Regions from separate parts of the Homo sapiens genome. Here region 2 is linked to region 1. Evidence: promoter capture Hi-C in human tissues and cell types (Jung and others, 2019). All regions are on one chromosome and are shown on one strand. Each heading gives the region's core, a stretch centred on a gene start or on the middle of the fragment in contact. The rest is flanking DNA. Distances are from core to core; before and after follow the strand shown. Region 1 holds the start of OR1N2 (olfactory receptor family 1 subfamily N member 2). Region 2 has its middle 11 kb from the start of OR1J1.

What was found. The method cuts DNA at HindIII sites, captures the fragments that hold promoters and counts their contacts. A contact is called where the count stands out against the background at its distance.
Region 2: a fragment that was not itself captured here is called in contact with the fragment with the promoter of OR1N2 in region 1 in 8 of the 25 tissues and cell types used here (H1 embryonic stem cells, dorsolateral prefrontal cortex, heart left ventricle and 5 more).

The regions. Positions count from the first base shown.
Region 1 is chr9:122,549,859-122,555,999 of GRCh38, forward strand. OR1N2 (olfactory receptor family 1 subfamily N member 2) reads left to right here and starts at 3,254. Exons shown (of 1, transcript NM_001004457.2): 1 at 3,254-4,356. The coding sequence starts at 3,354. The coding sequence ends at 4,304. It also overlaps a transcript of OR1J2 not described here and a transcript of OR1L8 not described here. The HindIII fragment of the contact is 3,656 bases long and covers 882-4,537 here.
Region 2 is chr9:122,485,555-122,491,695 of GRCh38, forward strand. It overlaps a transcript of OR1J2 not described here. Among named protein-coding and RNA genes, the nearest start is that of OR1J1, 11 kb to the left of the region's middle. The HindIII fragment of the contact is 4,254 bases long and covers 2,765-6,141 here.

The sequences.
Region 1 (6,141 bases), core at 2,004-4,503:
CATATGAATTTTAGGATTTTTTTCTAATTCTATGAAAAATGGTGTTGGTATTTTGATAGGAATTGCATTGAATCTATAGATTGCTTTGGGCAGCATGGTAATTTTAACAATATTGATTCTTCCAATCCATGATCATGGGATGTTTTTCCATTTATTCGTGTCATCTAAAATTTCTTTCTTCAGTGTTTTGTAGTTTTTCTTGTAGACATTTTTTACCTCCTTGGTTACATATAATCCTAGGTATCATCAGAGACTACTATAAACAACTATGAATTCACAAATGAGAAAACCTTGAGGAAATGGATAAATTCTTGAAATATAAAATCTCCGAAGATTGTGCCAGGAACAAGTAGAAATGCTAAATAAACCAATACTGAGTAGTGAGATTGAATCATACAATCTCCCAACAACAACAACAAAAAGCCCAGGATCAGTTTAATTCACAGCTGAATTTCACCAAACATACAAAGAACTGGTACCAGTCTTCCTGAAACTCTTCCAAAAAATCAATGAGGAAAGAATCCTCCCTAATTCATTCTACAAAGCAGGTATCACCTGGATATCAAAGCTAGATAAGGACACACAAAAAAGAAAACTACAGACCAATATTTGTGGTGACAATAGATGCAAAAATTCTCCATAAAATACTAGCAAACTGAATCCAACAGCACATCAAAAAGATAATACACCATGATCAAGTGGGTTTTTTTTTTGAGGAATACAAGGATAGTGAAATATATACAAATCAATAAATGTGATTCACCACATAAACAGAATTTAAAATAAAAACCTTATAATCATCTCAATAGATATAGAAAAAGCAACTGATAAAATTCCATATCCCTTCATGATAAAAATGCTCAACAAACTAGGCCTAGAAGGAATATACCTAAATATAATAAAAGCCATATGTGACAAACCCATAGCCAGCATAATACTGAATGGGGGAAAGCTGAACGCATTCCCCCTAAGAACTAGAGAAAGACGAAGATGACCACTTTCATCACTCCTATTCAACATGATACTGGAAGTCTTAACTGGAAGTCCTTAACCAGAACAATCAGGGAAAAAAAAAAAAGACATCCAAATTGGAAAAAGGAAGTCAAAGTATCTTTGTTTGCTGATGATATGATCTAATACCTAGAATACCTTAAAGATTCCTCCAGAAGACTCCTAGATTTGATAAATGAATTGAGTAAAGTTTCATGATGCAAAATTAATGTACAAAAATCAGTAGCATTTCTACACACTAATAACAATCAAGCTGAGAACCAAATCAAGACCTCAATCCCATTTACAATAGCTACAAAAAGTTGGATTATTTTAGACCTATGAAATTGCTTATGATTGAAACCAACAATGATACTAGAACAAAGCATAGTGGATAATAGCATGTACTCCAGAGTCATTACAGACCTAGGTGGGGATTCCACTCTCTCCACTTAATAGAATTAATTAAAATACAGTAGATATAAGTAGCTTTTTTTGAGCAGCTGCTTTGTATGAGGCACTATGGCTGGTGTGCTTTATTTAGGTTGCCTCATTAATTGAGTTTTGGAGTTTTTGAGGGTATTGTTTCCATCAGGATTATTCTCTTTAAGGAAATCGCCAGCAGAAATAGTTGTGTTTTAGTTTATACTCCTGATTTCTTCTTCAATGCAGTTTTACCTAGGACATGGGACAAGTGCTGACTTGCCTAATGCATATAGGCAGGAGTTCCCAGGTGACCTGCTAGTCAGGCTGAAGTACACTGCATTGCCAGCAAGAGGCTTCAGAATCACATTCCCGAGACCCACATTTGAGATCTTAACCCCTGGGAAAGAGAGGTCCTCAGCTCCCCTAGGATCCAGCCAGAGTTGGCTGGAGAACAGGCTGCACAATGACACCGAGGTCGACCTTAACGAGCACATTGGGAGATGGTGTTCTAGGAGCCTTTATAACCTTAAGAGATATTCCTGTCTTCTTATGCCCGGGGAAGCTGAAATCGAGCCATACACTTCAGGTATTTCTAATAAACTCTGGACTCAATAGACCCCGACTTTATTGCCTCTGAGTCAGAAAGGTCTCAGAGTTTTTTATTATGAATTATCCATCCAAGGAAGAGAATTGGAGAATTTGAAGATGCCTAAAACTGATCCATAATCTGACAGGTGAGGATTTGGAAGGGGTAGGACACATACACACACACACACACATACACTCTCTCTCTCTCTCTCTCTCTCACACACACACACATATACACCTTCCTTCCCAGTTCGATGATCAGGTGACCAGGCAAAAGTTTCCTGGGAAAGTGCTGAGTCTCTGCCTAAGGTCAGAAGCTTCTCTATGAACCAAAGAACAAATGGAGGACTAAAATAGTTACAAAAGCTTCTAAGGCCAAACTTCTACAAGATCAATATGAAATGGTTTCTCCTACCAGCTCACTAGGGCAGCAAAAAAACAGACTGGTTATTTTCAAACCAAAAAGTCAGGGCGATACCTTTCACCTTCCCTCCCTCTGGTTAAAAGTAAATATTAGATAAATGTAGTACAAATGTAGGGGTGAAGGCACAGGTGAACTAAAATATCAGTTCCCAGAGCAGATAGAGATGCATAGCAGCAAAAAAGGGAAGAGGACAGGGATAAAGGAGAGGAAGTGATGGAAGGGAGAGAGTGGCTCCCTGTCCTATTTGTATGCGTGTGTGTGGGAGGGAACATCCTAACAGTGGATGGGGGAGTACGACACCAGACACCTACTGCCCTCAGCTCACATATCCTTTGCCGCTAGTTAGGAAAGAGTACAGGACTGGTTTGAATGGGTGAGGTCAAATTCTCAGCACTGAAAGGCAAGTGGGGAGGAAGCTATCTTGTCTTAAAAGTCAATTTCAGCCCCCACAAAGAGGGCTTGAGTGTGTGTGTGTGTGTGTGTGTGTGTGTGTGTGTGTGTGTGTGTGTGTTGGAGGAGGGGTAGGAGTTTGATGGAGATCATGCATCTTCTTTCCAATTGACAATAACAAATGGCTTTTCTAATCTTGCCATCAAGCTATTCTCAATTCTCACTTCCTCTAAATAGCCCATGCCAATTTCTCTGGTCAAACAAATCTCTTTTCTTTGGATTCTGCTATAGCATACAAAGCACAATTGAGATTTGAATGGATATTATCTTAACTGTTCTCTAAATGTCTCTTGGGTATTTCCTTGCATTCCCAGTGAGATTCAGAGATTCTTATTGGCAAAGACCATTTATTTTTCTTTTCTTTTTCTCCCAGCACAGTTCTGGCCACACAGATGCATATCTGTAAATTGATCTAATAAATAAATACTGACACATGGAAGGTTTTTATCTGCGCAGATCACACGAACTACAAGGGATGGGAAAACCAGGCAGAGTGAACCAAACCACTGTTTCAGACTTCCTCCTTCTAGGACTCTCTGAGTGGCCAGAGGAGCAGCCTCTTCTGTTTGGCATCTTCCTTGGCATGTACCTGGTCACCATGGTGGGGAACCTGCTCATTATCCTGGCCATCAGCTCTGACCCACACCTCCATACTCCCATGTACTTCTTTCTGGCCAACCTGTCATTAACTGATGCCTGTTTCACTTCTGCCTCCATCCCCAAAATGCTGGCCAACATTCATACCCAGAGTCAGATCATCTCGTATTCTGGGTGTCTTGCACAGCTATATTTCCTCCTTATGTTTGGTGGCCTTGACAACTGCCTGCTGGCTGTGATGGCATATGACCGCTATGTGGCCATCTGCCAACCACTCCATTACAGCACATCTATGAGTCCCCAGCTCTGTGCACTAATGCTGGGTGTGTGCTGGGTGCTAACCAACTGTCCTGCCCTGATGCACACACTGTTGCTGACCCGCGTGGCTTTCTGTGCCCAGAAAGCCATCCCTCATTTCTATTGTGATCCTAGTGCTCTCCTGAAGCTTGCCTGCTCAGATACCCATGTAAACGAGCTGATGATCATCACCATGGGCTTGCTGTTCCTCACTGTTCCCCTCCTGCTGATCGTCTTCTCCTATGTCCGCATTTTCTGGGCTGTGTTTGTCATCTCATCTCCTGGAGGGAGATGGAAGGCCTTCTCTACCTGTGGTTCTCATCTCACGGTGGTTCTGCTCTTCTATGGGTCTCTTATGGGTGTGTATTTACTTCCTCCATCAACTTACTCTACAGAGAGGGAAAGTAGGGCTGCTGTTCTCTATATGGTGATTATTCCCACGCTAAACCCATTCATTTATAGCTTGAGGAACAGAGACATGAAGGAGGCTTTGGGTAAACTTTTTGTCAGTGGAAAAACATTCTTTTTATGATTAGACATCTAGACGGTGATGTCTAATCTTGATCAACCCCTCCCTGTCTTCCATCACTTCAGTAATTCTACTACTGTCATGTTGATATTAGGGGAAGGTTATCCGTTGACTCTGAGTTAGGGATGTAAAAAAAAAAAAAAGAGTGTTTCATTCTTTTATTAGGCTGTGGAATGAGATGTTCTGTCTCAGCCTCTTTCCTGACCCCAGTGAGGCAACCATTACTAACAGCAAAACTACTATTCCTCCTCACATCTCTAAAACCAGCATATTAGCCATAGTGAACAAGGCATTTGTTATGAGGCTCTGGAGCTGAGCAATTCTACCCCAGCAAGGCAGGCATGGGATGAGGTGAAGGAAGGAGAATAGAAACATTTATTGACTATCCACAATGTTCCTCATTATTCCTTACATCAGTTACTTTAGGTAGAATTGTGAAAACTGTGAATTAGGATGCTAAATAACTTAACAAGTCAATTTATGCCTATCGACTCCCTTTCTATTTTACCACTTTGTGAGGATCATGACAAGGAAGGTGTGAGTGTACATCTAAGGTTAATATTGAATGATAACAATAGGAGAAAAAGAATTAATATATGTTATGGTATTCCTTACTATTTCATTTCTTTAACTTAAAAGCACTCTTCTGTTGTAGTAAATAGATTAAAAGTAATCAATATTTGTTGTACACCTACTAGTGCCAGATTTGTACTAACTACACCATCCGTTCTCTGAATTCTTTCATAAAATATTCTAGAATCAAAAATGATAAATCAAGCATGCTGGAAATTTTTAGGGCAATAATTTGATGCAAAGCAATCTGGTGGAAACTGATATTATGAGAAGTCACAAAGCTTAACAATGGTTTTCTTTTTGCAATGAAATTCTAGGTTATCAATTTCTTCTTTATAGCTACATGTTTTGAAACATGTAGATATTTTTCAAAAAAGGAAATGAAATTTGAGGGTTGGCACAAAAAAATGTTGCAGTGATAACTCACAGAGAAAAAGAAGCACTGAAACAGATCTCTGAGATCAAGTTCATCCGGGGCCAAATTTTTTAATAAAGGAAGGTATGCCCTTTTGGTGTTGTACAATAAATATTGCTTAAGGATCTTCCTTTAAGGAAGATCAGGCACTAGCATGCATTGCTCTTTGGTCATTCTACCTCTCTCCTTCTGTCCCTTCTCTTTGGATAGAAGAGAGGAATAATGAGACAACTAAGGAAACCAGACAAGACCATCTTAGCCTTGAATTAGGTGACTTGGCCCTGACCATAGCAATCTGCGGCTGCAATTTCTAGTGCCAAGGCAAAGGTTGGGAAAGGCAAGTTTTGTGTTTGTGAATAATATCTCTCCTCTTTGGGAACTAATTTCTGACCTCTAAGATCCCCACCTTTGCCCTCCAGTCACCCAGCTACACCATGCCATTTACAGTCTATTTATATATAAAGATATCTACCTCAAGGAATTGGCTCATGCAGTTGTAGAGGGTAGCAAGTTTGAAATTTGTAGGGCAGGCTGGAAACTCAGGCAGGCATGAACATTGCAATCTTTTTTAAATATATAGACTTTACTCTTTTAGAGCTGTTTTTGGTTTATAGAAAAATTGAGCAGAAAGTTCCCATATACTTTATGCCCCAACACACGCACAATCTCCCGAACTAATCCTCACCAGAGTGGTACATTTATTACAATCCATTAGCCTCCACTGACACATCATCACCCAAAGTCTATAGTTTACATTGGAGTTCATTCTTGGTGTTGTGCATTCTGTGGGTTTTGACAAATGCTTAATAGCATGTATTCATCATTATAGTATCATACAGAATAGTTTCACTG
Region 2 (6,141 bases), core at 3,642-6,141, 63 kb before region 1:
AATAGCTTGCTGATATCTGAAATTCTTTTAGCAAGAGAAAAAGGGCTTTAAGTTTCCAACTAGAGATTAGGTTTCAAGTTAAGTTTTCCTGGGAGAGAGAGCCCTATGGCCAACACTCTAACTCAGATAGAATGGCTGAGAGCAATTTATTTGGGGATCCAGGTTTGGATGGCAGAACAAATGCACTGGCTTTCTCAGACAAAGTGAGGAGACAAGGTTGGAGATTACAGGCAGAATGAAAGCAGAGGCTGCAGACACTGAGAACAAATTTACTATCTTTCCAGTTTGGCTGCAATGACTGCTGTAAGGCTGGGCTGTAGAAATAGTTGAATTGTTAAGAAATCTGATGTAGTGCTTAATTTGTACCAGGTGATTTTCAAATAATATTCACCTGTTCCCACATAAGTTTTTTTTTTTTTTTTTGAGGTGGAGTCTCTGTCACTCAGGCTGGAGTGCAGTGCAGTGGAACCATCTCGACTCACTGCAACCTCTGCCTCCCGGGTTCAAGCAATTCTCCTGTCTCAGCCTCCCGAGTAGCTGGGATTACAGGTGCCCACTAGCATGCCAGGCCAATTTTTGTATTTTTAGTTGAGAGGGGGTTTCACCATATTGCCAGGCTGGCCTTGAACTCCTGACATCAAGTGATCCACCCACCTTGGCCTCCCAAAGTGCTGGGATTACAGGCATGAACCGCTGTGCCCAGCCAATGTAGGCATTCTGATCCTCACTTTGGAGAGGAGAACACTGGGATTCAGTGATGAAACTTGCCCAGTATTATAGCACTAGTATATTGTGAGCCTGGGAATTGATAGCAGGTCCATCTGGCTTCAAAGACTATATTCTTCCCACTCTATTAAAAGCCCTTATTAAATATATCTTCAAATAGGACAATATTTGCTGCCTGAGAGCACTCAAGAATTTCATGAAGTAAATTGGAGAGTTTAAGGATGAATAAAAATCTATAGTTTCAAGATTTGTGCCATGATGGTGATGTCAGTAATACTGATAATAAAAATTAGAATAGCAATCATTCATTAATCACATATTTATTGTGTGAATAATAATATAGGCCAGCTGCTGTGATGCAATTTATATCATATCAGCCTAACAGGATCACAAAATGGCATTATTCTCATCTAACCAATTGGAAAGTAGGGTTTACAGAGTATAAATAATTTGCCTAAAATTCTACATCATGAAAATGATGGGGAGGTCATTCAATCCTGTGTTTGTCTGATTTCAAACTCATGCTGCTAATCATCATGTCGTATTGCCTCCAGCAGAGCATTGATGGAAAAGACATCTGGATATGCACCTGTCATTAAAGAGGTGGAATCTGTAATTTCTTAAAAGCCTTTGCATAGATGTATTGCTTCAGTCTTTAATCAGATGATCAGAAGAGAATAGAGAAACCAGGAAATCAGTTACTGGATTTACGAAGGCAGCTTCCCAGAAAGTAAATTTCTCGGGGTCCCAGGAAAAAAACAAATAAGACCCTGGCCAGTGTTGTTGTTGATACCTATATTCCATCAGTAAGGGAAAGGTTAAGGCAACTATGGTACACATTATTGAAAAGAATATGTAGTCAATAAAATAAATTCATTAAAAGCTTATGATATAATTTTTAAAGGACATAATAGGAAATTGCATGTAGGTATGTTTATAACTATTTATAAAAATGCAGATTATTATTATTTTTTAAACCTTGAAGAATGTGCTCATAGCTGGGATGCAGGCCAGATATTCAGCAAAACTGTGAGAGAACATTTTCCTAAAGAGGAAAGTACAAACACCAGAGAATAATAATAATGATGTCCACCCTAAATTATTTGATGTAATACAAAAATTATATAAACCACCTGGCACATGTGTACTCATCTGCAAGATTTTGGAGGAGATGATTAACACACACACACACACACACACACACACACACAAACTGCTTAATGGAGTCTGTAAGCATTGGTCTTACCTAGTTCAGTGATAAATTCAAATATTGTCAGCTCCTTGGTATGAACCAATCATTCATTTTCTCTCCAAAAGTCTTAGAGCTGGAACAGTGAGAAAAGTCATGAGCTCAACCCTGAAGTGGAGAAGAGGCACATTCTTTGTTTTTCACCAGCCACAAGGCTACAGCAAGAGTATCTCCCTTTACCTGCCTGGATGGGAACCCAGGGGACTGGTGCCAGAAGTCTGTGGTGAGACACAGTTAGGGGCTAATTACTGTATTTCCCTTAATATTCCCAGTTGAAATGTGCCTTTGCCGGACACCAAGGACAGTCAACTCCTATGGGAATATAAATAAGAACTTTTATTATGTACAGATTTTTTTTATTTATAAAGAACTTTCACATCTATAAGATTTTTTAAGCATCACAATAATATTTGATGTAGATAGTATTTTTCCCATTTATTGAGTTTGACAATGTCTCAAAAGTAAATGGTTAAATGAGTATTCAAACATAAACACATTAACTTCAAACCTAAAGCCTGGTTTCATTCTAGGCTTTCTTCCATGTTGCCTCCCTTATATTAGTGAGCTCTATATTTTAAATAATTCTTTTGGGTTTTTTGTTTGTTTGTTTTGTTTTTGTTTTATTTTTGTTTTGAGACAGTTCTGTTGCCCAGGCTGGAGTGCAGTGGCATGATCTCAGCTCACTGCAACCTCTGCCTCCTGGGTTCAAGTGATTCTCATGCCTCAGCCTCCCAAGTAACTGGAATTACAGGTGTGTGCCACCACGTCCAGCTAATTTTTTGTATTTTTAGTAGAAATGGGGTTTTGCCATGTTGCCCAGGGTGGTCTCAAACTCCTGAGCTCAGGTGATCTGCCCGCCTCAGCCTCCCAGAGTGCCTGGATTATAGGCGTGAGCCACCGCTCCTGGCCTATACAGACTTCCTCCTTCCCACATTCAATTTGGAACTGGAAGGAGAGGTGTTACTAGTCCCTGAGGATTAAGAACACTTTTCAAGGACTAGAGATTTATTTTCCTCATGGGAAACACCTGAATACATGCAGGATTTATTTTTGGTTAGTGATGACACATAATAATAGTTGGAACAGACTCAGGGCTCAAAAAGTATTCTTTGACCATAAAAATGAGTGTGAGAATCTTCAGAAACCTGCTACATTCAGGTTGGCAAAAATATAAAAGAGACGGAGAATTAAGTGGAGGAGATTGCTTTTTTCATTATTTCTTTGAATAATTTGTGCATTCATTTACTCATTCAGAAGAATATTGTATAAATATGATGTGGCAAGAATTTTGTGAGGCACTGTAAGTAAAGAAAACACAAGTTTCTTTTTTTAAAATTTATTATACTCTAAGTTCTGGGGTACATGTGCAGAATGTGCAGGTTTGTTATATAGGTATACACATGTCATGGTGGTTTGCTGCACCCATTACCCATCGTCTACATTAGGTATTTCTCTTAATGCTATCCCTCCCCTAACCCCCCCACCCATTGACAGGCCCTGGTGTGTGATGTTCCCATCTCTGTGTCCATGGGAAAACACAATTTTCTGTCCCCAAAGAGTTCCCAATCCATTGAATGAGATCGACAAAACCGTCCACATCAGACACTGTAATGAAGGTAAGAGCCGAGTGCTGTGGGAACACAAAGGGGGGCATCAAACCCAAATTAAAGGCATCAAGCAAGTGTTCTGTGTGGGAAACTTATGAGGGGAGAAGAAAAGACACACACACCATTCCTTTATTCCATATATAAATATATATATATATATTTACACTCGCCAGACTACGGAGGATTCACCACCAGACTGGAAAGCAACAGCCTGGGTTCCAGAGTCAGATACAAAACTCACCAGACTGTGGAGGATTCACCACCAGACTGGGAAGAAACAGCCTGGGCTCCAGAGTCGGCCACTTGTCCGTGCACAGACAAGGAGAGGTTTCATGAAGCTTCGGTGCTAGGGTCTGGGACCCTAGCTCTTTTTGTAAGAAGTTGTTTTGCATGAGGCCCAGTGACGAGGGCCCTTTGCGACTGGGCTCAAGGAACACAAAAAGATCAACTTGTTTTTGCAATTATCTATTGTTTTTCAATAACCAATGTATAGGAATAGATTGAAATAGAGATTTCTCCGAAACAGTGCTGGATGAATGCCTCAAGGGGCTCACACAACCTGTTCCCGGACTTGGTGACCATTGTTTGTGTCCACGTTCAATTGAGTTCAAATTTAATATTTAACTTTTTCTCCACATTGGGCCTCAATTTGATACTCAGTTGTAGGAAAATACCCTTACAGATACATGGGGAAGGCACAGTTGATAGATTACAGATACATGGTAAGCACAGGAGAATTAAAAACGCAATTAATAAAAACCACACCTACGATAGCTTTGCAAGGAGAGTAATATTGTGAGAATTGTCAGGGATAGACACATAACATTTAGTATGCAGTAAGGCACAAACCCCTCCTTGGGCTGTGGTAAGCATATCTAATGCCTCTCGATTTTGCAACACAACAGTGCACGGCTGAGCAAATTCATCTGATAACATAAGTCCAGTGCTACTATCATTAAGAGCTTTTTCTACATGTAAGCTTAATATTTTAATTTGTTGCTGAAGCAGGATTGTACTGGTGGCAGGGGAGAATACTGTGATAGGGTACCATCATCAGGGAGTCTGGCACATTCATAACCAGTGATGTTTGTAAGCATCTAGATTACTGGGGAGGGAATATTATCCCAGATGGTGAATGGAATTAATGGCCATCCCCAAATGCATCTCCCCATCCAATGTGGGGTGGTGAGTGTAAATATATATATATCTCTTTTCCTTTATCCCCTTCCCATTGCAACTTGCTTATTATATCAATTTGCTTATTATATCATTGGCTTGTTATATCTGCATTGCCATTTACGTGGGATAAAGCTTGTTTACCCTTAAAGGTATTTTGTGTGTGTCTTTTCTTCTCCCCTCATGCGTTTCCCACACAGAACAGCAAGTAGGCTTGTAGAAAGTTACAAGTAAGCAGAAACTCAAGAAAATCAAAACAAGTAGAAGGTGATGTCAACAACATAGAGGCAGAGCAGTGAAAGGGAGAGAAACAGAGGAATAGGAAAAGACCTACAGAAGAGAAAGGATGGCAAATTTAGGAAACAATTGTCAGAAAAATTAGAGTGGCTAAAATGTACACTTGAACAGGGGAAGAGGTTCAGGATGAGTCCAGAGAAACTAGAAGGAATAAATCATGCAGGACCTTAGAAGCCATATTGAAGAATTTGCATATTACTCAAAAGGAAAGAAAGAGCCATGGAAGGACTTGATCAGCAGATTGACAATCATACTAAACACAGTTGGTATAGTTCAGGAGTGGATAATGAGCATGTGTTTGCAGTGGGCAGAGGACATGTTGGCAGAGCAGGCATGGGGTAGTGGAATGCAAGACCAGAAGCAAAGAGACTCATTAGGAGAAGATGACAGTCATTTAGGTAAGAGATTATGAAAGTGTGTATAAGAGAGTGACCATGATGTTAGAACTATATTGATTTAAGTCTCCGTAGTCAGAATCTAATGGATATAGTAATTTTGATGTGAGTTGATTTTGATAAGAATGTAGAAAATAAGGAGAACAAAGGAGTTGAAAACCTCTCTAAATTTATGGCTTGGACAGCTGAGTGTATGGTTGTGCTATTCACTGAAGGCAATATAGAAGAAAAAGATTTGAGAAGTTGTATTGCATAGAGTATGAGGTACCTATAGGTCATCCATGAGACAAATTTAGTAGGCAGGTGGATATATTTTGGATAGAGATAGAAATTCATGGACTGTCAACATAGAGGAGGATGAGATTGCCTGAAAACAAATGAGGTTAGTAAAAGCTGAGGAAAAAGAAGAAGGAGGGGAGAGAAAGGGAGGAGAGAAGAGGAAAGGAGAAGGGAGAAAAGCAAGGAAAGGGAAGGGAATAGTTGCTGAGGACAGACCACAGGGAACATTGACAATTAAGATAGTAGCAGAGAAATAAAGCCCCCAAAAGACATCAAATAACAACCAGAGATGGAGAAGGAGAATATAAAAATGTAGAGCCAAGGTTAAGTGCTGAAACCATTCATTGGATTTAGTAATAATGAGGATTTCGGTGACATGACTAGGAGCAATGCAAATAAAAGGTGGGAATGG